Linked DNA regions of Homo sapiens: regions 1, 3, 4, 5, 6 and 7 are each linked to region 2. Evidence: promoter capture Hi-C in 16 types of primary human blood cells and fetal thymus (Javierre and others, 2016). All regions are on one chromosome and are shown on one strand. The core of a region is centred on a gene start or on the middle of the fragment in contact, and the rest is flanking DNA. Distances in the headings are between cores, read along the strand shown.

Region 1 (3,853 bases), core at 858-3,357, 340 kb before region 2:
TTATAAAAATTAAGAGAAGAAAAACACTGCAGACATGGACATACTAAGAACCTCACCACCAAATATGTTTTTGTGAAAACAAAAGATTCTAGAAATCTAATCCACACCAGGAAATACAGTGTATTTAACAGGCTATACTACCACCTAGTGGAGAGAATTACTACCATCACAATATATACTTAATTTAATCTGAGAACCAGTTAACAAGATTTCCTTTCTGCTTCATCAGTGCAAATTATTCCCACACTTATTAATTCCACCAAAAAAATGCAAACATCACCTAAAACCACGTATACTTGGACATACCTGGCCATTCCAAAATCAGATACTTTTACAACTCCCGCCTCACTTACTAGACAATTTCTGGCAGCCTGGAAAACAACATTATGATGGTATATTAGTTTAAAAATTCTATCATTTAAGTAGGAAAATGTAAGTTCTATTTATATTAAATTTAGTGTAACCTAGTCAACATTTGCAGAGAGTGGAAACACCCTTTAATAAGTTGTTTTTACCCCTATGGAAGTATTTCCATTGTGTATTTGAAAAAAATGAATAGGCAGGTCAGAAAGTTGTATTTGCAATAAGGCATTATTACATAATCTTTACCAATTGTCTTTTTTTTTTCTTTTCTTTCTTTTTTTTTTTTTTGAGACAGAGTCTGCCTCTGTCGCCCAGGCTGGAAGTGCAGTGGCACAATCTTGGCTCACTGCAACCTCCACCTTCCAGTTTCAAGTGATTCTTCTGCCCCAGCCTCCAGAGTAGCTGGGATTACAGGCACCCACCACCACAGCCAGCTAATTATTGTATTTGTTGGCCAGGCTGGTCTTGAACTCCTGACCTCATCCATCTGCCTCGGCCTCCCCCATTGTTAGGATTATAGTCACGAGCAACCTCACCGGCCAACTGTCATTCTTAAACAAGGGCTAATAGAAGGGTCAACTCACTTTTCTCCTTCCCAGACCTGTTCTTATTAAACTATCCAATTTTCTTACTGACAATGAGAACATCTCTTGAAGTCCTTAATCCGGTTCTCACTAGGTGAGCTTAATAACACACAACCATCAAAATGATGGGCGACCAATCTCTTATCCAATATTTCTGCTCAGTGATTGGTCATCTCATCCCAGTCAAAGAACAGGCTGGGTGCAGTGGCTCACGCCTGCAATCCCAACATTTTGGGAGGCTAAGGCGGGTGGATAACTTGAGGTCAGGAGTTCGGGACCAGCCTGGCCAACATGACAAAACCCCTTCTCTACTAAAAATACAAAAAAAATTAGCCAAGTGTGGTGGCACACAACTGTAGTACCAGCTACCTAGGACTGGAGGCAGGAGAATTGCTTGAACCCATGAGGTGGAGGTTGCAGTGAGCAGAGATCGCGCCACTGCACTCCAGCCTGGGTGACAGAGCAAGACTCCGTCTCAAAAAGAACAGCTATGTGTAAATACAGTTTGCTTTTTCATTTATGTTCCCAGTATATTATAACATGATGTACAAAATTGGTCAAATACAATTGTGGATTATTTAATTTATATTTTCTTGCATGTTCTTCAAGGTTACAAGGTTTAAGAAAATAGTTTGATAGAAAGACGTGGTATTTCTCAAAAGGAAGACAAGAATTTTTTTTTAATTTTTTAATTTTTTATTTTTGAAACTGAGTCTCGCTCTGTCACCAGGCTGGAGTCCAGTGGTGCGACCTTGGCTCACTGCAACCTCCACCTCCTGGGTTCAAGTGATTCTTCTGCCTCAGCCTCCCGAGTAGCTGGGACTACAGGCGTCTGCCACCACGCCTGGCTAATTTTTTTTGTATTTTTAGTAGAGACAGGGTTTCACCATGTTTGCCAGGATGGTCTCGATCTCTTGACTTCGTGATCCGCCCGCCTCGGCCTCCAAAAGTGCTGGCATTACAGGCGTGAGCCACCACACCTGGCCGATAATATTTTTAATACCATAACCCATAGACCAAGATATGTTTTTCTTCCTGACTGTTCATAATTCTATTTTCTCTATGTGGCAATTCCACTCATATGAGGTTCCTTCTTGCTGAGTGCATTTTAAGAGTCTTATAAAGTGAGAGTTAATATCCATTCCCTGGACTGCCTGCATCTTCCTATGAAAACACTTCACAACTCCACAATGCCTGCACTGGATGGTCAACAGGATTCTTTACCAAGGAGACAAGAGCATCCAAAGTTTCCCATAAGGGGTGACACAAACCTACCATAGTAATACCAATATCACAGGCACAGAAATGTAAGAATCGTTTTTGCCAAAACATCATCTGTGTGGACAGGTGTAATCTGCCACACCCACGTAGATACTCAGTTTTTATCAGTTTTATAAGGACATCTATTTTGTTCTTAGTTCTTAGTTCACAAGTTTTAACTGACGAGATGTTCTTCATCATCCCTGACACAATGATAACAATAACTGATGTTATCTACAGCATGTCTATTTTACAAAGCCCATTGCCCCAGTCAAATAATGTGACCTTTAAAACAGTCCTGGAAGCCAAACAACATTATAACCCACAATTTACAGACACAGAAACTGAATATAAGATAAGGTAAGTATCCCAAAACACACCTAGGAAATAAAGTGTTCCATCTCCAAATCTTCAATTCTCTAATATGTTTTAATTCTAGAGAGCATAGCATAGTAGTTAAGTAGGGACTTTAGAGCCAAACTTCCTGGGTTCAAATCCTGGCTCTACAATTTACTTGCCCATTGGAAGTTATTTTATCCTATTTGCACCTCAGTTTCCTCATCTGTAAAAAGGGAATAATAAGAAAATCTACTTCCCAGAATTATGATTAAACAAGTTTATTTGTAAAATACTTATCAGAACAATGTCTGTCTAAGGTGACTGTTAACTTTAAAAAATGTTTTGCTAAGGCCAGGTGCAGTGGCTCACACCTGTAATCCTAGCACTTGGGAGGCTGAGGCAGGCAGATTGCTTAAGCTCAAGAGTTCGAGACCAGTCTGAGCAACACGGTGAAACCCCATCTCTACAAAAATTAGCCAGGCATGGTGGCACGTGCCTATAGTCTCAGCTACTTGGGGGCTGAGGCAGGAGGATCGCTTGAACCCGGGAGGTTGAGGCTGCAGTGAGCCAAGATTGCGCCACTGCACTCCAGCCTGGAAGACAAAGTGAGACCTGTCTCAAAGGAAAAAAAAATTTTTTTAAAGTTTTTCTGCTTTCTAAAAGAAATGTGTCCATGCTTTATCACTAGAAAGCTAAAACTAAAATATGGGAGAAAGTCCCAAATGAAAATTACACTCTTCTTGGTAAAAGAATTATTTTCAGGGGACAGACAGTGCTACCGATATGCTGAAAACAGACATTTTCAGCTGATTATTTTCAGGGGACAGAGTGCTACTGATAGCTGAAAGCATCTGTAAAGAACAGGTAGAGAAGAAAAACAGAAGGAAAAGAAGAATGGAGGAGAGAGTGAGAACAGGTGAGAAGGGAAAAATTGTCTCCATCATAATTTAGAACTGGTAACGGATTTCTTTTTCTAGCATTTTGAGAAGTTAACATGAACCTCCATGTTTTCCCAGTGATTTGAGAGATTTTTTAAAAATCCAAAGGATTTCTCTTATAGTTTCTTTTTATAGTGTGTGAGGTGGAAAAGAACTTGGGCTCTAGTTAGAAAGTCAAGGCCAACCCCAATTTCCCTATTTATCACAGTAGGCGAGCCTTTTGACTTCCCTGAAGCTAATTTTCTCATCTGTACAAGAATGATGGTAAGAGAATCCACTGTGAGTAGCTATCTCATGGGATTCTTATGGAGATCGAAAAATTAAAACATGGAAACTTGCTTGGAGATATTAACTAAGTAAATCATTAGA
Region 2 (3,600 bases), core at 753-3,252:
AAGCAATTCTCCTGCCTCAGTCTCCTGTGTAGCTGGTACTACAGGCACACACCACCATACCCAACTAATTTTTGTCTTTTTAGTCCAGATGGGGTTTCACCATGTTGGCCAGGCTGGTCTCGAATTCCTGTCTTCAAGTGATCCACCTGTCTCAGCCTCCCAAATTGCTGGGATTGCAGACAAAAGCCATGATGCCAGGCCCCTTTCTGTTTTCAGTCTTCGCCCATTGCACAAGTTGCCGCCCAAGTCCCTCCCTAAACCCTGAGAGGAGGTAGTTGGATGAGTTGAGTTGGTCTGCCTCTAATTACTGCTTATTTAATGTGATTGTGAATTTTAATATCATTAACATGATGAGGGTTTCTGAGGCAAATAGGAGTGGTGCCTGCACAGTTGGCTTCAGCTGGATCCCTTGCCATTTGTGTTCTTGGCTTATCTCATTCTGTGGTTTCAAGACTGTGAAGGCTCAGCAGTGCCTTCCCTCCTTATCTTGTCTGTTTCTCCACACATCTTCCCTGGGTCTACTAATGTAACGGTTGGGTAGCATGGATCATTGTATATCTGAATATCTTTCTTTTTACCTACATAAGGTGACATGTCAACTTAAAATATTTTTGGTCACAACCCACTTCCTTTAAAGTTTAGCTCACTGAAGTTTTTTTTTCTGGGTTTAGTGTTTTGGAAAAGTGTAAGGGTACATTATCCTCCTAGATTCTTGCAAAAGCTCTGCCCTCGTGGAATTTACAGTCCAAAAGAGAAAAAATAAATTATTTGTGATGAAGAGTGCAATATGCTTTGCATTTGCAAAGTCTTACTTTTCATAGTCTCCATCATCTTCATGAGATTTGGGGAGGAGGAAAGGCTCAGCCCACCCTTGGGTAATAGAAGTCACTCTGTGCCAGGACAGGAGTTAGGGAAAAGTTCCCAGATAGAAGAATTCACTATATCTTGGCTCCTTGTGAAAGCAACCCTGGGCTAAGACTGAGCCTTGATTTCATTCTAGAAATTCCTGTTGGTTTTTACAACTCAACTGACTATCACTTTATGGTCACCCCCAGGGAGCTAGATGCCTCCTTAACAGGCCCCACCTGGTTGGTAAGCAGCGAAATTATTTTCCTTTCTACATGCCATCTAGTGACTGACTTAAAAGTTGTTGCATCTCCATTCCTAAGAGCTCTGCTTTTGAATTGTTTTGGGATAAACCTGTCTCAAGCAGGGAATCTCAGCACTTTATTTCTTTTCAGTCCTTTAATCCTAATGCCAGGGCCTTACTCATAAAGCTTCGTAAATCTGTGGCCACTGAAATATCCTCTCTCCACCTGCCAATAACTTCTTAAACACACATTTTTCATGGAAATTGTTATTAGCCAAGCTCTTCTCTGCCCTCTTTAGGGACACATCGCCGTGCAGATTCAGCCAGGTACTTGTGGGTTCGGTTGATAAGACTGAGAATTCCTCGTTCCTCAGTTTCCTCGTTTGTAAAAATCGAGCTTGTAAAAATGGTATCTATCTCACGGCTTTGCTGTAAGAATCGAATGAAATAATGCACACGCACTTGCACAAAACCCGCTATATTATTATTACATTCTACTTTAAGACTGAAAATCATGCAAAAAATTGTTTGCAAATTCAAGCCAGATATCGTGTCCTGCTTACTAGAGAATCGCTCATATTAAGTCAAGCACCCCTCTTAGGGCTGCAGGCTATAGGAACAGTTTCTGCCATGAGCGTGCATCGATGAGGTTATCCACCCGCCCCCTCCACTTTGTGTGTCTGGGTCTCCAGATTTCATTATAAAGAGGCAGAGCCCATCAGAGAACTTGATCGGCAGCCAGGAACGGTTTTTTCCTGCTCTGGTCCTTTGTCAGGTCTTTGTTCCGCCCCTGGCTACACTCGATAACAGAACCACTTACTGGCGATTCACAGGAGGGGACCGGGCGGCAGGGCGGGGCGGGGCCTGCGGGGCGCGGGGCCGCGGCGCGGAGCCGGCGCAGCGATTGGGTTCACCCGGGGGGCCGCGCTGCGCGGAGTGCCAGGCTGCGGGCGGCTGCAGACCTGGGAGCGGAGACCGGCCCGCCGCCCCCGACGCCGCCGAGCACGTCAGCGGCGCGCAGCCGGGGCTCGGAGACCGACGGGCAGAACGACGGGCGGCGACTGCGGCGACCGCGGGACGGCGAGAGGCACGCGGCGGGAGGGGACCGGAATCCGCAGCTCCGGCCGCGCCATGGACGGCAACGACAACGTGACCCTGCTCTTCGCCCCTCTGCTGCGGGACAACTACACCCTGGCGCCCAATGCCAGCAGCCTGGGCCCCGGCACGGACCTCGCCCTCGCCCCTGCCTCCAGCGCCGGCCCCGGCCCTGGGCTCAGCCTCGGGCCGGGTCCGAGCTTCGGCTTCAGCCCCGGCCCCACTCCGACCCCGGAGCCCACGACCAGCGGCCTCGCGGGCGGCGCGGCGAGCCACGGCCCTTCCCCGTTCCCTCGGCCCTGGGCGCCCCACGCGCTCCCGTTCTGGGACACGCCGCTGAACCACGGGCTGAACGTGTTCGTGGGCGCCGCCCTGTGCATCACCATGCTGGGCCTGGGCTGCACGGTGGACGTGAACCACTTCGGGGCGCACGTCCGTCGGCCCGTGGGCGCGCTGCTGGCAGCGCTCTGCCAGTTCGGCCTCCTGCCGCTGCTGGCCTTCCTGCTGGCCCTCGCCTTCAAGCTGGACGAGGTGGCCGCCGTGGCGGTGCTCCTGTGTGGCTGCTGTCCCGGCGGCAATCTCTCCAATCTTATGTCCCTGCTGGTTGACGGCGACATGAACCTCAGGTACGGATCTGTCTATTCCTTGGGCATCTGTCTCATCCCAGACGCGCGTTTACGGCCGTGGGCTCACGACGAAGGACAGAGGCAGTGGAGGGGTTGGAATTAGGCGTGGAGGAAGGAGGAGAAAAGGAGAGGAAGTTGATGACGCCCCGGCTTTAGAAGTCAAGGCCGACCTGCAGGTTGTGCTGCTAGGGGAGCAAGCTAGACGGCGAGGGAGCTGCTCCAAGGCTGGGATTCCATGCGCAGCGCGGCCCTTCAGCAGGGTCCCTCGCCGTCCTCCCCGAGCGTCGGGGTGGCAGCGCAGGTCGTTGTCCAGTGGAAGACAAAGAGAAGGGGGAGTCTGAACTAGAACTCGCCGGCAACGTAAAAGTAAAATAGGGCTACTGGCCCGTCAGAGAAAGTAATCTCACATAGAGTGCAGGATTGTTGAGTCCGACCAACAAGTAGCAGTCAGCAGCTTTACCATGGCTTACCTTGCAGGGGGCTTGCAAGGAAGAACGTTCCTTCCCCTCAGAATCATCCAGGCTCAATAGACTTTATAATGTCGAGGGCAGCAGTACCGAGACAGGGGGCTTGTTTTTCCTCCCTGCCTTGGGTTCATAATTCCATCGGTGTTAGACGTGCTGCTCTCTTGGCACTCTCCTCGGATGTAGGTTCTGCCCAGACTTCAACCCCGGGACTTGCAGTCTCCCCGTTCCACCTCTACTCAACATACAAGAAAAAGGTTAGCTGGCTGTTTGACTCAAAGCTCGTTCTGATTTCTGCACATTCCCTTTTCTGCAGCATCATCAT
Region 3 (3,661 bases), core at 82-2,581, 300 kb before region 2:
TGCTATATGCTATTGTTAATATTGTGGCCCATCTGGGTGGAGTTGCTCATGCCTGTAATCCCAGCACTTTAGGAGGCCAAGGCAGGCAGATCACTTGAGGTCAGAAGTTTGAGACCAGCCTGCCCAACATGGGAAAACCCCATCTCTACTAAAGATACAAAAAAATTACCCAGGCTTGGTGGCAAATACCTGTAATCCCAGCTACTCTGGAGGCTGAGGCATGAGAATCTCTTGAACTCAGGAGGTGGAGGTTGCAGTGAGCCAAGATCGCACCACTGCCCTCCAGCCTAGGTGACAGAGCGAGACTCCATCTCAAAAAAAAAAAAAAATTGTGGCCCAAGGGGAAATATCCAAGGTCATTACTTTTTTTTGTGTTATATTTCCTTTCTATTCTATAGCCTTTGCCCTGCTTACTAGACTGAAAATCATGATAAAGCTGAGACTTTCCCTGACTCACCTTTGAATCCTCTATGAATCTGCCGAGCTAAGAAGACCACCTGACACTTAGTGGATACTAATTCAACAGTGTGCTGACCCAGTATGCAAAGGACCATGGGCAATACTCTGTGTGTGTGTGTGTGTGTGTGTGTGTGTGTGTGTCCTCTCTTGCACACTTTGCAAAGCTTGAAAATGGAAGTAAGCAATGACCATTTTATATATTGTAAACCAGCGTATATGGGAAAATGAGGCATTAAGATGAAATATAACTTGCTTTAAACTACACATCAACTGAATGGCAGAACTCGGAGTTAGATGGATGAGATTCTGTCCCCCAGCAAGACTTACAAGGTACACTGTTTTCCTTTAATTTCCAGAATACTCTGTATTTTAATAATACAAATATCCATCCTAATCTAAAGAAATTAAGTGAGAAAAAAATGTATACAAATAACCAGGCTGGTCTCAGGTGATCTGAGAAGTCATTTATCTCAGGACACCCTCTTGTCCTTTTCCCAAGGCATCCAGAGTCCCCACCACACACAGGGAAAGGCTTGCCAGGGTGTCCCTCCAATATTCCAAATGATTCGTCCCTTTCCCACATCACAAATTTTATTCCTGATGTGGCTGTTCCCAGGGTCTTGTGGCAGAGGAAATCTCCTGGGTGAATCATGTCTGCATTGCAAGAGGACCTCAGAGAAGGAGCATGAGCTTTGGAGACAAGCAGATCCTGACTTCTAGCCTCTGCTTTGCCACTTATAAGCCATACGACCTAGGGCAATCCCAGTTTTCTCTCTGTGCTTCAGTTCCTTTCTCCGTAGAAATAGGACAATGCTGCTCTCTTTGCCAAGCTATCAGCAGGATTAAAGATAATGTTCATAGGTGCTTAACAGTGTCTGACACATGGAACTCTGTGATGGTTAATTTCATGTGTCAACTTGAGTAGGCTAAGGGATACTCAGACGGCTGGTAAAACGTTATTTCCAGGTGTCTGTGAAGGTGTTCCTGGAAGAGATTAGCATTTCAATCAGCTGAGTGAGTAAAGAAGATCCACCTCTGCCATCGCAGATGGGCATCATCCAATCCGATGAGGGGGCAAATAGAACAAACAAAGGCAAAGGGAAAGCGAACTCTTTTCTTAAAGCTGGGATGTCCATCTTCTCCTGCTCTCAGACTTTGGTGCTCCTGGCTCTCCAGACTCCAAGGCTTCCACCAGCAGCCTCCTCCCCTACTCCTGGTTCTCAGGCCTTTGGACTTGGTCTGAATTACACAATTAGCTTTTCTGTGTCTCCACATTGCAGATGGCAGATTGTGGGACTTCTCAGCCTCCATAATCTATTGCGTGAGCCCATTTCCATAATAAATCTCCTCATATACATCTATATGTATCCTATTGGTTCTGTTTCTCTAGAGAACCCTGATTAATACAAACTCACTCCCCAAATAGTAGCATATACTGTCAGTTTTCACAGTAACCCTAGGAAGTTGCAGGAAACTGAGCACTGAGAGGCTATGAGACTGGCTAAGGATTGTAGAGGCTGAGCCAGAATTGAACTAAAATCCCTCAAAAACAGTAATGCTTTTACCTGACTCCAGGTCTGTAAAGCTTGAATAGTTATGGACTTTTATTATTAAAAAAAAGAATATTATCATGTCCATAGCTAACAATTATAGAACACTTACTATAAACCAGCAATACATTAGCCTCTTAATGTGGATAATCTCAGTGAATCCTCACAGCATTATAACATGAGAATTACTGTCACCCCCATTTTGCAGATGGAGAAATCAATACATAGAGAGTATAATTAACTTGCCCAAAGTCACACAATAATCCAGGATTTGAACTTTAATTCCAATCCTGAATTTGTAAGTGCCACCTATACCTAAGTAACTTGGTATCATTTAACTATGTGCAAACATAAATTCAGTAGAAATTTCTTAAACTTATAGCTTGTATACAACTATAAAATCAAAGAAAGTTCACAAATTAAATACAAACAAAACTATACAGCAAATAAAGTGAAATTAACATTACTTGGATGTGACAGATGGGGTGTTGGCTGGAATTGAATCTCTCCGTAAGTAGTTCTCTTGCCATCCACATGCTTATATTACTGTGTGCCACATGACACCCTCTCCCACCTCTTTTCTCAATTCAATTATAAAGAACCTCTGTTTGTACATATATTGCTATCCTATCATTAGGCCTCATTTTGCACCACTGAATTGTTTTGTGTTCAGTCTGTCTGTGTTCTTTCTCAACAGGCCACAACAATTAAAACAGATCTCAAACACAAACCCAAAGCAGACTGCTGAAATGGCATGTTTAGCAACAAAGGACCAGGCAGACAAAAAAAATACACACACACACACACACACACACACACACACACACATTAAATATTATTGAGGGATAAAATATTTCATCAAATTAAGAAGACAAAATTTAGAACTTGCGGTCTTCAACACATGCATAGCACTAAACCTGTGGCTAACATTCATTGCATTCCCTCACGACAATTTGTATTTAGTTTGTGAACTTGGTTTAGTCCTTCAGCCATGTTCATTAAATATTGACTGCTGTGTCCTTTTACCATCTGCAAAGCACAGATATCAAAGTACCATAATAGAGACTTGAAAACACACACACACACAATCCGTTGCCCTTATGGAATGTACAAAAACCCAACATCTTCTAGGGTTACAGAGACAAATGATCATATTTACAATGAAAGTTCGGGTGAGTCAATAGTGAAAGACTAAAGAGTTCCAGTCAACTGTTTAACAGAAAAGAAAATGAATGACATATTCTACTAAAAACACCAAATGACCCTAAAAGGCCTATTCTATTCATACATGTAGTCTTTTCCCTTTCCACTCAGAACAGATTTAGAAGAATGGGTCTTAAGTACAGCAGAACACATTAATTAAGAGAAACGAAAAAAAGGATGGATTTGACATTTTTCTTGTGAATACTGGGAATAATTTTTTACATAGAGCTTTCTAAGAGAAGTCAAATGAATAGAATTTAGAGGCACTTCCAATTTGATGATTCTATGAGAAACTGCTGCCTCTTTACCAAGGACAAAATTCTAACAAAAACTTGGCATTCCATTACTTGGTATCTCATTATTTTTTCCTCCCTTTAAACTAGCTTATAATAGTAACTTATATGGGTGATTTATATTTTATAAAGTGTTTTTACACTAAGGAGAAAAAG
Region 4 (3,848 bases), core at 1,115-3,614, 460 kb after region 2:
CCTTGGAGACAGCCCTTTCCAATGGACATTCATGTCCCTGACCTGACACTGTCTCCAGTCTGTGCTCTAGATAGGTACGCAGGGTGCCTTTGAAAGCCCCAGGGCATGGGAGGAAAGATCCACATTGGCCAAGTCATTATGTTCATCTGCACCAAGCTGCAGAACAAGGAGTATGTGATTAAGACCCCACACAGGACCAAGTTCAAGTTCCCTAGCTGCTAGAAGATCCATATTTCAAAGAAGTGAGATTTTACCAAGATTAATGTGGATGAATTTGAAGACATGGTAGCTGTGAAACAGCTCATCCTAGACAGCTATCAGGTCGAACACCCCCAATCATGGCCCCCTGGACAAGTGGTGGGCCCTGTACTTATGGGGGCTCCCACTGTTTTGCCCCTCCTTATTCACACCCACCAATAAAGCCTACTTCCTAACCCCCAAAATAAAGAAATAATAATATTATTTATCTTTATATCATCTTTTAGTGTCTTTTTTTGTGCACGTATTGTAATGCTTGTAATACATTGGTAAGTATACATAATGGAAGTATGGGCTGAACATTTTTTGCTGATTAGAGGGTCACAATCAAAAAGCTGGTGACCACTGATTTGTACTGAGACTGACATGTCCAGAAGTCCATCCAACTTATGAAGAAGACATGTGGATGGTGGCACAGCTTGGACTCTGTAATTCAAGACTGTAAAACATTTCTCACTCTACGTTTTATGACCTATAACACACGATTACATGAACTAGGGAAAGGATTGTGCTTTAGAAAGTCAGGTAAGTGTATTTGCATTTCCATTATCAGGAAAAACTCCCTCCATCCTCATTCCTCAACTTCTAGGTTTTTCCTAGGACTAGATTTAGGGACTAGATTTAACAATCTTTCAATCAAGTTTGTTTTCTTTGTTACTTTCACCTGGTTCGACATCTAAGTAAATCAACATTGCTAATCTGTTAGTTTTTTTTTTTTTTTTTTTTTTTTTTTGAGATGAAGTCTCGCTATATCGCCAGGCTGGAGTGCAGTGGTGCGATCTCAGCTCACTGCAACCTCCGCCTCCTGGGTTCAAGCAATTCTCCTGCCTCAGCCTCCGGAGTAGCTGGGATTACAGGCAGGCACCACCACGCCCAGCTAATTTTTTTATTTTTAGTAGAGACAGGCTTTCACTATGTTGGCCAGGATGGTCTCCACCTCCTGACCTCGTGATCCGCCCACCTTGGCCTCCCAAAATGCTGGGATTACAGGCATAAGCCACTGTGCCCGGCCACCTCTTAGTTTTTTTGGAACAAAGGGAATCTGAAGATTTTTCAGAGTCAGGAAAGAATTTTGTTAGGATATTAAATGTGGGCAATGTTTATTTTTAAGTCTACAGATCTGAAGTTACCTTTTTCAAGAACAAAAACACTCTTTGGTTTGCTCATAGATTGATTATTCCTAGTATATTATTTTAAAAGTACTTTATTTTAAAAAGTCATATTTAATGCATAGAGTTATTGCAAAATATAAACAGGAGGCAAAAATGAAATGAGGTATAAATGTGTGCTAAATTCTGCTGTAGTAATAGACAACCTCCTAAATCTCAGTGAGTCAATGCACCCCCAATTTTTTTTCTCATACTGCATGTCTAATGCAGCTTAGCAGGTGGAGCTCTGCTCACTGAAATCTCTCAAGGACTGTTAGAACAATAGCCCCCAAAGATATCCACCTCCTAATCCTGGGAACCAGTGAATGTTTCCTTACATGGTAAAAGGATCTTTGCTGACGTGATTACATTAAGGATATTGAAATAGGGAGACTATCTGGATTTTCTAGGTGGACCCAATGTAATTACAAGGGTCTTTATAAGAAGGAGGGAATAAAGTCAAAGGCAGTAGTAGAAGATGTGGCCCCAGAAGCAAGAGGTTGGAGTGATGTGAGGAAGGGGCCACAAGCCAAGGAATGCAGGCAGCCTCTAAAACTGAAAAAGACAAGGAAGTGTATTGTACAAATGAAAGCCCGCATACTTTATGTCTAAGTATTCAGAGGTTGTAAATTAAACCATACCCACAATCTCTGGCTTGGTCCTGACCTGGGCCACAGTGGTCCCCAGGGACTGTCCTGCAACCTAGAGGTTGAAGAGCCCCAGTCTGCCAGCCTGAGTGGAAGCACAGCTCTGCCTGGGCAGGCAGGGTAGACGGGGGTCCAGGCTCAGACAGCTGTGAGTGAATTCACCTGCCTGATCCTGGGGCAGGGACTGACCTGGGCCAAGCTTTTCAGGGAGTTCTCAGCGCTCAGTGCCTTTACCATCAAAGCAGAAGAATGTCACTGTTAAATGGCTTTGGGAAACCCTGCTTGTTAACTTCCCTGCGCACCTTCTTGCGGATTCATAACTTATATTACACTATATAGTAAAGGTTCTGACAGATCATAAGATATAAAAACCTGCTTAGCTTTGTTTAACTCAGCATTTTCCACATGGAATACGTTTTTGGGAAAGCTTCCTTTTTTTTTCATAAGTCTTAGTAATATCCTGCTTTCATAAGTCAGAGTTCTTCAACACACCTAAGGAACTGCTGTTTCTGGAAAGGTTTTTGGACCTAAAATGCAGAGCACTGAATGAATCATACTCCTTAGTTCCTGACATACAATTATCAGTTGTTCCTACAAGGACCCATTGTCATTCATTCATTCATTTATTCAGAGTCAAATCAGGCACAGAAAGCACAGTATCTTAGGGCTCATGATACATTAAGGGGCCCAGGAAAGTGTTTTAATTTCTTGTAAGTCAGAAGTAAAAATGTACTTTTAGGGCAAAGAAGTTTTTATTTTAATTTTATTTATTTATTTATTTATTTATTTTTAATAGATACAGGGTCTCACTATGTTGCCTAGGCTGGTCTTGAACTTCTGGCCTCAAGCAATCCTCCTGCCTTGGCCTCCCAAAGTGTGATTACAGGTGTGAGTCACCATCCCTGGCCCAGAGAAAATGTTTTAATACATAATATTAATATATTTATCTTTATACCAACACAGTTGTAAAATATGATTTTTAAATACTTTTCTAATGGAGGAAAGGACCCATGAAGGCGAAAGGGACTCGGGCCCACGGAAATTGGAATGCAGCCATACATTTATTTACTCCCTTTATTTTATATCCTAGTCCCATTGTCTCCAATCAGTAATACTTTTAATGTGTATGTTTATTTCTCTTTGAATGTGTCTTTGAAAAGCATATATTACTGGTTTGCATATTGTTTAAGTGATATTGTATTTTATATTGTTCTGTTTCTTGCGTTTTTCACTATGTACCATATTTTAAAATCAATTTCTACTGCTCTAAGTATGTCCAACTAATTGCTTCTACCCACAGCAAAATACTCTGTGGTGTACCTGCACCACATTTTACCCATTCACTCTCCCAGTGATGCCATCTCCTTGCCACCACCATGCTGCAATGATCCACCATGTACATTTCCCTCTTCAGCCTGCCTGGGAATGTTTCCAGGATATGTGCTCATCAGTGGAATTTCTGAGTCAGAGGGCACCTGCATACTTAATTTGGTTATGTAATGCTAGAAGTCTCTCCAAAATAAATGCTGTTTTCATATTTTTCTTTTCTGTGCTGGTCATTTTGGGGTTTGCTGTAATTTATTTTAGCTTTGTAAAATAAATTGGGTAATTCTTTTTTAAATCCTGGAACATTTTATATTGCATTGGAATTAATTATTCTTTGCAAGTGTGAGACTATAGGCAGTATGACTACTTGATGCCAAAACCCATATGTAGAGGCAATTCTTGAAAATATTTTCAGTTTCTTCCTTGGCTATTGGTTTGAATAAATTTTTATTGTTCTCAATCTGATGTT
Region 5 (3,629 bases), core at 403-2,902, 430 kb after region 2:
GATAGATACAGACACCTGGAGAGACCTGGACAAGCAGCTTTGTGTGGTAGGAGAGAGTGCTGTGCAGTGTGGTTGGCTGAATAGCAAGCCCTAGTAGGGGAGGGATGGAGATGGATTAAAAACAAAATGAGGCAGCTCACACCTGTAATCCCAGCACCTTGGGAGGCTGAGGTGGGAGGATCATGTGAGGCCAGCAGTTCAAGACCAGTCTGGGCAACACATGAGACCCTATCTGTACAAAATACCAAAAAGAATTTTAAAAATCAGCCAGCTGTATTGGCACATACCTGTAGTCCCAGCTGCTCAGGAGGCTGAGGCAGGAGGATTGCTCAAACCCAGGAGGTTGAGGCTGCAGTGAGCCATGATTGCTCCACTGCACTCCAGCCTGGTGACAGAGGGAGATCCTGTCTCAAAAAAAAAAAAAAAAAAAAGCAAGTGGAAATCTAGATTGATGCCCACAGGAGCCCAGAGCTCACCCACAACCACCTTTTCCTGCTCTATAGAAGGGGCTCTGGCTGGATTCCTGGTGTGGAGAGGTTTCATGTGTGTGTCGGGGACATCTTGGGTGTTCATGGAGTGGCAAGAGCAGTCCTCGGCATCCTGCCATTCTTTTTCTTATTCCAGCTCAACTTGCCATCTGCGTACCTCTGTGAGAGGCTCTGTGAATCACAGGATCTCGTGAGTCACTCATTCCCTCTCTGAGGAATAAATTATATCAAGTCTCACAAAAGCAGAGCAGTTGGGTTTAAATGAGGTGTCACACAAAGATGGACTGCAGGTTCTGCTTTCCCTTATGAGCTGGCACGGCTGTTGGGTGAGGCACGTTGCCAGTTCTCAGCCTGAGCTTTTGGGCCATCAACCCAGAGTTCTGGCTGCTTCAGCTTCATCTAGATTTGATGTTCAGAATGCCAGACTCAGCAAGAGGTGAAACAGGCCCCAATGATCATAATTTTGACCCAAATGGGGAAAGGCTGAAGAATGAAGATGAGAGAATATTGATTTGCTTGTGTCTCCAGTCTGCATTGCGTCAGGCCTATCCTTTGTTATCATTTTTTTTTTTTTTTGAGATGGAGTCTCACTCTGTCGCCCAGGCTGGAGTGCAGTGGCACAATCTTGGCTCACTGCAACCTCCGCCTCCTGGGTTCAAGTGATTCTCCAGTCCTATCCTCCAGAGTAGCTGGGGCTACAGGCGTGCACCACCACACCCGGCTAATTTTTGTATTTTTAGTAGAGACGGAGGTTTCACCATATTGGCCAGGCTGGTCTTGAACTCCTGACCTCAGGTGATCCACCTGCCTCGGCCTCCCAGAGGCTATCCTTTATTTAACTCACAACTGCTCACAATAGACATCCTGAAAGTAAATTTACTACTTTAATGTTCCAAAACTGCTTTCCGTAGTCCATGATACGCAAAGCCTTTGAATGCAAAAAACAGAATGTTCCTGGTGTAGCAGAGAGAATATGTGGTTAAGCAGAGGACAGTGATATCTTACGGCAAATGTGTTGACCCCATGACAAGTGTGCATTGTCAGCTTTGTGTCCTAGTATCTGTACTGAGCCTCTCTTTAGATAGCAAGCTTCTCACCTGGCTATGGTGAGGGTGGGAGAAAAGCAATTTGATTTGCTGGTGAAAATGACTCACAGCAAGATGTAAATGCGAACCACAGATTTAGCTCCTTGCAGGGCATAATTCCATTTTAGATGAGAGGCTTAGTAATCAAAACCTAATAAGCTTAGTAATCAAGATCTTGATAGAGTGTTGGGGGAAGACTCGCTTTCACAGAGGAATTTTTGAGAATCCCTGTGTTACCCTAGTCAGCCCACTTTTTCTGATTCACTTGTCTGAGCATTAGGGAAACAAGCTTCAGTATCCTGGCAGTCCACTTGGGGAGGGGCCTAAGCTGTAACTGCTCCAGGCAGTTCAATTCCAGCTTCCCACTTGATAGTGCCTCTCAGGGCATCTTTGCACTGTGTCCACCCTATACCCTCTGACAGGCACCTACATGCTCTGCCATGGCAAGTTTATGACTTTTCTTTGGGTCCCATTGAAGATATCCCTAAAGCCTAGGAATTTAAGCAGGGACCCAGACTACCTGGGCTCAGTTATAGCCCCACTCCATATCTTTATATAAATAATTGCTTGGCACAGTGCCTGGCACATAGGGAGTGTTGTTTAAGTGTTCATAACCATTTCCTCCAGGGAAACTCTCCCTCCCTGGTCCCTGAGGCAGGAATCTCTCCTGTGTGCTGTATTTTGATGACCTCTTTACTCGCCTCTATTCTAGGATGTGAGATACCTGAAGGCAGGGGCTGTCTTTCTTACCTTCAATTCTGTGACTAGAAAACCATATTGAGATTTTAATTTGAGTTACATACTCTTTCAGCAGTCTGAACAAATGGTAAGGATTCTCTCTTCCCCATTCCAAGAAAGTCACCAAGTGTCCTTAATTTCAGGATTAATGACTTTGGCACTATAGGGATAAACAAAGAGTTCAGGGATAAAGCATGAAACAGGCATCTGGAATATCACCCCTATATAGAATTTTGTTGTAAAAAAGAAGCCCCAACCAAGAGAGGAAGTGGGCCAACCCTGGAGGGAAGATTCTGAAAGCTTTTCAAAAGACTGGGAGCGGGACAGAGGTGTTCAGGTCCTGTGGTACTGGAGACCAGCACTTCCCTCCCACAGCTAGTCTGTGGCAGGACCTCATGGCAGAAAAGCTGCATGGTCCCCTGAGAGAGAAGGTTCACCAAGTCTTTAATTTCCCAGCCGCCAAAAGATCTGGGACTGGGCCACTGCTTTCAAGGGACCACGTGGATTTTGACACTGAATACCTCAACCAGTTCAGTGTGACCAGAAGAGATCAGAGGATCTTCTAGAATGTTCTAGATTGTGCCAGATCCCTTCACTTGACCCTAGGAAAAAGGGTTCCTGCCCCCCATCCCCACCAAATTCTTGAGATTGAACTTCCTGAGTGAAAGGGGACTCTGAACAAATGTAACTTTATTTAGAGACACAAAAGTACATGGCCTTTTGGAAACCCTAGTGAAGTGAACTAAAATTCACATCTATAGCATGTCCACAGTCCTGGCTAAGGCAGGTCATGTAGAATATTTGGTGAGTAAGTAAATAATGGAAGTACCTGAAATCTCTCCAGTCTATTTTAATAATCCCATAGCAACATTTTTTATTTACCTACCTTGAATAAAGGTTTTCCACGGCCATTTCCTGAGTCTTTAAAGCACATGCAAATGAATTGTCTTTGAACAAGGATTCAAAAGACTTTTATCACTGCAAGCTAGCAACACGCTGAATTTATATCTCCCCAGTATTACATTGTTGGTTGCTAATGTGACTAAGCCTTGCTACTTTACACTTTGTCTATGAATAGATTGAAGTCTCCAATGAGAACTTGCATCCCAAAGCCCCACCTAAAACGATAAAGCCTCAAAGGCAAAAACCCAAAATCTTACTTCTTATATTGGTATCCATGTCACAAAGCTGCCTTGTGTCTACAATTCCTAATCCTTGCTCAGAATTTAAGTTAGTTGGGCTATTATTTTTTTCTAGTCTCAATTACTTGTGGTTATTCATACAGGGATCACCTAAATGAATTAAATCTAGAGATAAT
Region 6 (3,630 bases), core at 706-3,205, 470 kb after region 2:
CTCTTGTGTCACTATTGATTTCAGCAAGAATTTATGGGTGTACTATTATTTTTAAAGCGAAAGTTATTCTTAAACTAATAATGCTCTTTGTTCTTAAAATGTCAGGACATTTCCTTAAGTTCTGGGTCTTATTTAGTTAGCATCGTTAACTCATTCCTTCAACCATAACCATCTTGTGACCAAGAGTGCCTGACTTCCTGGGAATGTCACCCAGCAGGTTTGGCTTTATTTGGCCTTTATCCAGATGGAGTCATTCTGGTTAGGATGCCTCTAACATTAGTACATCTTAACTATCATGTCCTTTACCTCATTCCCCTTTTCTGCTCCAGGCCTCATTTCTTCCAGGCTAATTGAAACACACACACACACACACACACACACACACACACACGCACACACACACACACACAATCTCTTTTTTTAGCATAAAGCTTTCTCTTCTGTATCTGCAGACTGATCATAGGGATACTTACCTTTTCTGGGCATGACAGTGAAGGGTTTCCTCTCTGGATAGTGTTATGTGAAGGGCAGGTAAGCACTTTTAGTGCAAAAAGCCAGAATTTTCTTTTCTTTTCCTTTTCCCTTTCCTTTCCTTTCCTCTTCTCTCCTCTCCTTTCCTTCCTTCCTCCTTCCTCTTTCCTCCTTCCTCCTTCCTTCTTCCTCCTTCCCTTCCCTTCTCCTCCCTCCCTCCCTCCCTCCCTCCCTCCCTCCCTTCCTTCCTTCCTTCCTTCCTTCCTCCCCTCTTCTATTTTCAGACAAAGTCTCACTCTGTTGCCTAAGTTGGAGTGTAGTTGCTCAATCTTGGCTCTACCACCTGGGTTCAGGCGATCCTCCTGCCTCAGCCTCCCTAGTAGCTGGGACTATAGGCATGCGCCACCACACCTGGTTAATTTTTGTATTTTTAGTAGAGACAGGGTTTTACCATGTTGGCCAGGCTGGTCTCAAATGCCTGACCTCAAGTGATCCACCCACCGTGGCCTCCCAAAGTGCTGGGATTACAGGTGTGAGCCACTGTGTGCAGCCAAAAGTCAGAATTTCTTAAATAATCTTGAAATATGCATTTATTCAGTCATGGATCTATACCATACTCTGTGGAATACAAACATGAAAAAAAACCAAAGACCTGTTTTGCTGCATTATATTCTAACAAGGGCTCTCAAACATTCTCACATATTTCTTCATAGTTGTTTATTGGACTACACTCCTAGATAGCAAACTCCTCAAAGGCTGGAACCATCTGTTAACCTTCCCAATGCCCACAATACTTTGCATAAAATGGCCTCATTTTTTAGAATGTCCTACAGGAAGTGCACATAAAGTGCTGAGGAAAGTCACAGGAGGGATGGGTTTCTTCTCGCTGGAGAAATCCAAGAAGGCTTCATGGAGAGCATGGTTTCTGTGTCAGGCTGTGAAGGATGAGTAAGATCCAGGCATGTAGAACTGGAAAGAGAATTATAGGAAAATAGAAAATGTACAGACACGAAATAGTGTGAGGCATGGAAAGGAAATCTTGAATAAAGTTTACGACGAGTTTGAAACAAAGTTTGAAATAGAATGAGGGACTTTGAAAAGGATCTCATCAGGTGGCCTTACCTTCTGAGTAAGGAAAGAAACAAGATTGTCTTCAAAAAAGGAAAGGAATAGGAGTGGAATGTGGGTCTGAAGGAGTGTGGAGAAGGTTTGGCTGTAGGATGAGGGTTAGACACTCAAAGACATTAAGATATGAGGTCTTGTAGGCCTGGCATGGTGGCTCATGCCTGTAATCCCAGCACTTCAGGAGGCCAAGGCAGGCAGATCACCTGAGGTCAGGAGTTCGAGACCTGGGGGACTCGAACATGGAGAAGCCCCGTCTCTACTAAAAATACAAAAAACAGCTGGGCATGATGGCAGGTGCCTGTAATCCCAGCTACTTGGGAGGTTGATGCAAGAGAATCGCTTAAACCTGGGAGGCAGAGGTTGCAGCAAGCCAAGATCATGCCACTGCACTCTAGCCTGGGCAGCAAGAGTGAGACTACATCTCAAAAAAAAAAAAAAAAAAAAAGTCTTGAGGTGTTAGTTGGTCACACAAATGGAGATATCTACAATATTAGACCATCCAGTTATAATTCAACTAATTTATTTGGTAGAGTGTTATGCACAATGTTTTACATTTTCATAATTTATATTCTATTAAAAATTAAAATATAGTATACATTCATTTCTTCATCTTCTAGCTGACAAATCTTAAATAAATATTATTTTAAACTCTAGGGACACAACAGTGAATACAGTACACAAGATTCCTGCATTTTTGAATATGTCCATTCTAGTGGGGAGAGACAGAAAAAAAAGTAACAGAAACAGAAATGTGTGTAATAGTGGCAGAAACAAGTATAATTAAACATCATTAATGTAAAACTATTCAAAATAATACACGAACGTAAATAAAGGCTATTTTCTAGCTAACTAAATCACCAACTGTTTTCTGACACAGATATTCAAAAATACGAACACAGTGAATTTAAAGCCTATCTTCTCTAGAAGAAAAGTCAAATTAATAAGGTTTTATTGTTATCAAGGTGTCAGAGGCATGTGAACCAGAGCAACTCTGTCTTAAATAGGAGCTGGGTAAGATGAGGCTGAAACCTACTGGGCTGCATTCCCAGGTGGTTAAGGCATTCTAAGTCACAGGATGAGATAGGAGGTCAGCACAAAATACAAAACCTGATAAAACAGCACAAAACATAAAACCTGATAAAACAGCTTGCAGTAAAGGAGACAGCCAAAACCCACCAAAACCAAAATGGTGACGAGGGTGACTTCTGGTCATCCTCACTGCTACACTCCCACCAGCGCCATGACAGTTCACAAATGCTACAGCAACGTCAGGAAGTTACCCTATATGATCTCAAAAGGGGAGACATGAATAATCCACCCCTTGTTTAGCGTATCATCAAGAAATAACCGTAAAAATGGGCAACCAGCTGCCCTTGGGGTTGCTCTGTCTATGGAGTAGCCATTCTTTTATTCCTTTACTTTCTTATAAACTAGCTTTCACTTTGCACTGAGGACTTACCCTGAATTCTTTCTTGCATGAGATCCAAGAACTCTCTCTTGGGGTCTGGATCTGGACCCCTTTCCTGTAACAAAGGCAGGAAGTTATTTAGCAAAATATGAAAGGCAATTTGAAAATGTCTGGGACACTTAAACACAAAACATATTTATAATTAATTTCCAGAGAATCATGCTGGGTCAGAAAGTCTTGGTAACAATAGATAACACTGTATTTTTTTCCTCTTCAGTGTATTTATGTGCATATTTAGATGTGTAAGATGCAAAGATATATAAGAGACTACTGTTACTTTTTTACTTTTACTACTTTTACTTGCAAAGAGCCTATAGGAGGAAACAGATACATCAGAAAGGTAACAAAATACACTACGTGATACTGGTTCCAACTACTGAGGAGAGTGTGTGGAGCCTTGACTTGAGGGCTGGGAGAAGCTTCACCAATGTCACAAATAACTTTTGAACTTGGCTTTGAAGTGGGCTTCTTCTGCTCAGATAAGAAAGAATTACATTGACAAAGGTGAGGAGGAAGTAGACATAGAGAAAATTAGCTAATATTTAAAGAGTTCTAAACACCCTATT
Region 7 (3,874 bases), core at 973-3,472, 490 kb after region 2:
ACTCACTGTAACCTCAGCCTCCCAGGCTCAAGCAATCCTCCCACCTCAGCCTCCTGAGTGGCTGGGACCACAGGTGCATACCATTACTCCTGGCTAATTTGTTGTATTTTTGGTAGAGACGGCTGGTCTTGAATTCCTGGGATCAGGTGATCCACCTGCCTTGGTCTTCAAAGTACTGAGATTACAGGAATAAGCCACCATGCCTGGTCCTTTATTTTTAATTGACAAGTAAAAATTGTGTATAGTTTTGGTGGTGCACACGTGATAGTTTTTTCTCTTCTTCTTCTTTTTTTTTTTTTTTGAGACAGAGTCTCGCTGTGTTGTCCAGGCTGAAGTGCAGCAGTATGATCTCGCTCACTGCAACATCCACCTCCTGGGTTGAAGCAATTCTCCTGCCTCAGCTTTCTGAATAGCTGGGATTACAGGTGCAAGCCACCATGCCCAGATAATTTTTGTATTTTTAGTAGAGATGAGATTTCAGCATGTTGGCCAGGCTGGTCTTGAACTGCTGACCTCAAGTGATCTGCCCGCCATGGCCTCCCAAAGTGTTGGGATGACAGGTGTGAGCCACCATGCCAGGCCGATATTTTGATATATGTATACATTTTGGAATAACTAAATCAATCTAATCCAAGGAACTTCTTTCTTCTCTGCCCTTTTATTAATGTAGAATTCATTTTCTTCTGATACAAGCCACCTTACTCTGCAAGGTGGGAAACACAAAACACCTCCCCTGCTTTACATTACATGACCTCCTCACCAAAAAAGATAAAAACAGTTCTGAAGCCTAAAGCTGCCAATATTGGCCAGGTGTGGTGACTTATGGCTGTAATCCCCACACTTTGGGAGGCTGAGGTGGGAGGGTCACTTGACCCCAGGAATTCAAGGTTACAGTGAGGTATGATTACACCACCGCTTGGGCAACATAGCAAGGCCCTGATATGGTTTGGCTCTGTGGCCCCACTCAAATCTCATCTTGAATGGTAATCCCCATGTGTCAAGGGAGGAACCTGGTGGGAGGTGATTGGATCATGTGGGTGGTTCCCCCATGTTGTTTTCATGATAGTGAGTGGGTTCTCATGAGATCTGATGGTTTAAAAGTGTGGCGCTTCCCCCTGCTCCTCCTGCCGCCATGTAAGAGGTGCCTTGCTTCTCCTTCACCTTCCATCATGATTGTAAGTTTCCTGAAGACTCCCAGCCATGCAGAATGGAACTGAGAGTCAATTAAACCTCCTTTCTTTAGAAATTACCCAGTCTCAGGTAGCATCTTTATAGCAGTGTGAAAACAGGCTAATACAAACCCCATCTCTACACAAAATTTTAAAAAATTAATTGGATGTGGTGGTGCATACCTGTAGTTCTAGCTACTTGGGAGGCTGAGGTGGGAGCATCACTTGAGCCTGAGCCCAGGAGTTCAAGGCTGCAGCGGGCTATAGATTTTGCCACTGTACTCCAGCCTCAGTGACAAAGGGAAATCCTGTCTCTAAATAAATAAATAAATAAATTACCAATATGGACAAAGTTCCCCAGGAAGACAATCAGGCCAACCTTCAAAAATCATTAATGATTTGTGGAGTGAAGTTTCTTCTGGGGAAGTATGGTAATATTGTGCTTCAAACTTCATATAGCCTACAAAACAGAAGTAATGGTTAGTGGCACCCAACATCTGGGTTACTAAGTGAAGATATAATAAAAATTAAGAGGCATGTTTATGTCACACCATATGCTTAAAATCTAATAATAGTAATGATGCAGACATATAGGTACAATAAAATCTGTGGGAGGTGTCATGAAATTAAGGTTAAACACAAGGGTAAAATAAGGATGGACTGTTCATGCAGTCAGATGAGTGCATTCTGGTCAATGGGTTGGAAGTAGAAGTCAGGTATGCAACTTTTAGGGAATGTCCTGAAAGGGTGGTCCCCTGTCCTTCTCCTTCCTTTTTCTTATTCTTGTAAGTTAGACTGAGAATGTGAAGCTTGAAGCTGAAGCAGCTGTCCTGAACCATGAAACGAAGGATGCCTGTTGAGGATGGTGAGTACCCGGATAGAAAGAGCCCAGGCTCTTGACACCTGTGGAGCAAGCACACCAGCCCTGGATTACTTATGGCAACCTTTATGTGACAGAGATAAAATCTCAATTTCGTTCAAGTCACTATTATTTTGGAATTCCTCTCACACTTGGCTAAACCTGGGGATGAATAATTGCAATATGGTGTTTCCTATTCTAATAATTTTTCAATCTCAATGGATTGTACTAACATGCATGGGGTAGAATTATGACATTTGCAGCCATGAAAGGCCTCAAAAAAAACTTACTTCCCATGCACTCTTTCTCAGGAAGCTGCTGGAGTAAACCAGTCAAGAGGAAGACATAGGATCCTATAAAGAGGGAGTCGAGTATGGGAGAGAGATGAAGCAATGTCTCCAATGAGGCTGAAGGGAAGTTCAGGACAACAGCCCTGCAGCAAGCTTGGAAAGCAGATTGCCCAGATTGGAGCAGAAGAGCAGAGAACACCAGGAGGGATGACTTCAGAGAAAAAGGGAGCTGATAGAATACCTCATGGTCTTGATGGTCCTGAGGTTTTACAGGACTGGAGGATAGTTTGGGAATGAGTTTGTGATTGTCACAGTTAAGTAAACAAACAAACAAACAAATTAACAAAAAATCAATTATAAACGAAAGAGAACACAATAATTAGATGAGAAATAAAATATAATTAAGCGTTCTGCATGATTAGCAGTGATGCAATCTTAATATGATAAACACATTATTGATTTAATCAAAATTTGAGAAATAGTTGAAACAACTATATTGAGTGGGAGAAGGTGTGTGTATGTGGGGGGTATGCGTGCATGTTATGTATCTGTGTGCATGTGTTTCTAGGGGAGAAGCACTGTAAGAGATTTAACCCTTCATCTTCTACAATAAAAACAATGATGTCAAAATATTTAAAAATCAAGAAAAAGCAATATGGAAGTGAACGCTGAAAAAATAGCTATGAAGATGTTTGCCCCTGACGAATAGGAATTAGGGATGGGATGGGTAGGGCCAGGAGAAAGAAGTTTTGTCCTTACTGTGTGAATCTTAGAACTGTTTTGATAAAATTAAAAATTTCACTGTGATAAAAATAATAACTTAACAAAATAAAATAAACTTTTTGACTATATAATCTTTAAGCTCCTTGAAGTGATTGGATGGAATGCAAGAAAAAGAAATAAAGGGGAAGGGAGAGTATTATTGGGAAGAACCAGTCTGTAGAACAAAAATCCCAGCCTAAAATGATTTATGCAGCTTTGTCTTTGTTATCTATCAATAAGAAACAATGTTCATTTGTTCACTCATTCATTCATTTGCACCCACCAAATATCTGCTGAGCACCTGGTATATGCCATGCTCTGCTACTGATTATCCGAACATCAAAGATGAAGCCAGGCACAGTGGCTCACACCTGTATACCCAGCACTCTGGGAGGGTGAGGCAGATGGATCATCTGAGGTCAGGAGTTTGAGAACCACCTGACCAACATGGTGAAACCCCATGTCTACTAAAAAAAATACAAAAAGATTAGCCAGGCATGGTGGTGGGCACCGGTAGTCCCAGCTACTCAGGAGGCTGAGGCAGGAGAATCACTTGAACTCGGGAGGTGGATATTGCAGTGAGCCGAGATTGTGCCAGTGCACTCCAGCAGCCTGGATGACAGAATGGGACTTGGTCTCCAAAAAAAAAGAAAAACCAAAAAAAAAAAAACCCCAAAAAACAAACCATCAAAGATGAGTGTGGTGCAGCGCAGTACTCACCCCCACAGAGTTTTCATTCTAATCTTGGTGCTCCATACTCTGCTCACCACCAAGTAACTTTAGTACTGTTATCT

Evidence for each region. Contacts are between HindIII fragments. The CHiCAGO score rates a contact against its expected background, and 5 or more counts as called.
Region 1: a contact is called between a fragment that was not itself captured here and the fragment with the promoter of SLC10A4 in region 2, in 1 of 17 cell types (erythroblasts). The highest score is 5.2, in erythroblasts.
Region 3: a fragment that was not itself captured here is called in contact with the fragment with the promoter of SLC10A4 in region 2 in 1 of 17 cell types (erythroblasts); the score reaches 5.6 in erythroblasts.
Region 4: a fragment that was not itself captured here is called in contact with the fragment with the promoter of SLC10A4 in region 2 in 3 of 17 cell types (M1 macrophages, total CD8 T cells and M0 macrophages); the score reaches 6.0 in M1 macrophages.
Region 5: a contact is called between a fragment that was not itself captured here and the fragment with the promoter of SLC10A4 in region 2, in 1 of 17 cell types (M1 macrophages). The highest score is 5.9, in M1 macrophages.
Region 6: a fragment that was not itself captured here is called in contact with the fragment with the promoter of SLC10A4 in region 2 in 13 of 17 cell types (endothelial precursors, erythroblasts, total B cells and 10 more); the score reaches 8.2 in endothelial precursors.
Region 7: a contact is called between a fragment that was not itself captured here and the fragment with the promoter of SLC10A4 in region 2, in 6 of 17 cell types (endothelial precursors, monocytes, naive CD4 T cells and 3 more). The highest score is 8.1, in endothelial precursors.

What each region holds. Positions count from the first base shown.
Region 1 is chr4:48,141,049-48,144,901 of GRCh38, forward strand. It overlaps TEC (tec protein tyrosine kinase), which reads right to left. Exons shown (of 18, transcript NM_003215.3): 15 at 307-371. Among named protein-coding and RNA genes, the nearest start is that of TXK, 8.7 kb to the left of the region's middle. The HindIII fragment of the contact is 5,689 bases long and covers 1-3,853 here.
Region 2 is chr4:48,481,341-48,484,940 of GRCh38, forward strand. SLC10A4 (solute carrier family 10 member 4) reads left to right here and starts at 2,003. Exons shown (of 3, transcript NM_152679.4): 1 at 2,003-2,811; 2 at 3,592-3,600. The coding sequence starts at 2,222. RefSeq lists a cis regulatory region at 273-668 and silencers at 1,923-1,972, 2,053-2,182. The HindIII fragment of the contact is 5,112 bases long and covers 1,276-3,600 here.
Region 3 is chr4:48,181,971-48,185,631 of GRCh38, forward strand. All of the region lies in intron 2 of TEC (tec protein tyrosine kinase), which reads right to left. Among named protein-coding and RNA genes, the nearest start is that of TXK, 50 kb to the left of the region's middle. The HindIII fragment of the contact is 1,421 bases long and covers 622-2,042 here.
Region 4 is chr4:48,936,508-48,940,355 of GRCh38, forward strand. It overlaps LOC124900176 (small nucleolar RNA SNORA70), which reads left to right; the gene lies at 1-14. Among named protein-coding and RNA genes, the nearest start is that of OCIAD2, 32 kb to the left of the region's middle. The HindIII fragment of the contact is 228 bases long and covers 2,251-2,478 here.
Region 5 is chr4:48,912,821-48,916,449 of GRCh38, forward strand. No RefSeq gene overlaps it. Among named protein-coding and RNA genes, the nearest start is that of OCIAD2, 7.9 kb to the left of the region's middle. The HindIII fragment of the contact is 155 bases long and covers 1,576-1,730 here.
Region 6 is chr4:48,954,730-48,958,359 of GRCh38, forward strand. No RefSeq gene overlaps it. Among named protein-coding and RNA genes, the nearest start is that of CWH43, 30 kb to the right of the region's middle. The HindIII fragment of the contact is 3,052 bases long and covers 430-3,481 here.
Region 7 is chr4:48,971,030-48,974,903 of GRCh38, forward strand. No RefSeq gene overlaps it. Among named protein-coding and RNA genes, the nearest start is that of CWH43, 13 kb to the right of the region's middle. The HindIII fragment of the contact is 493 bases long and covers 1,977-2,469 here.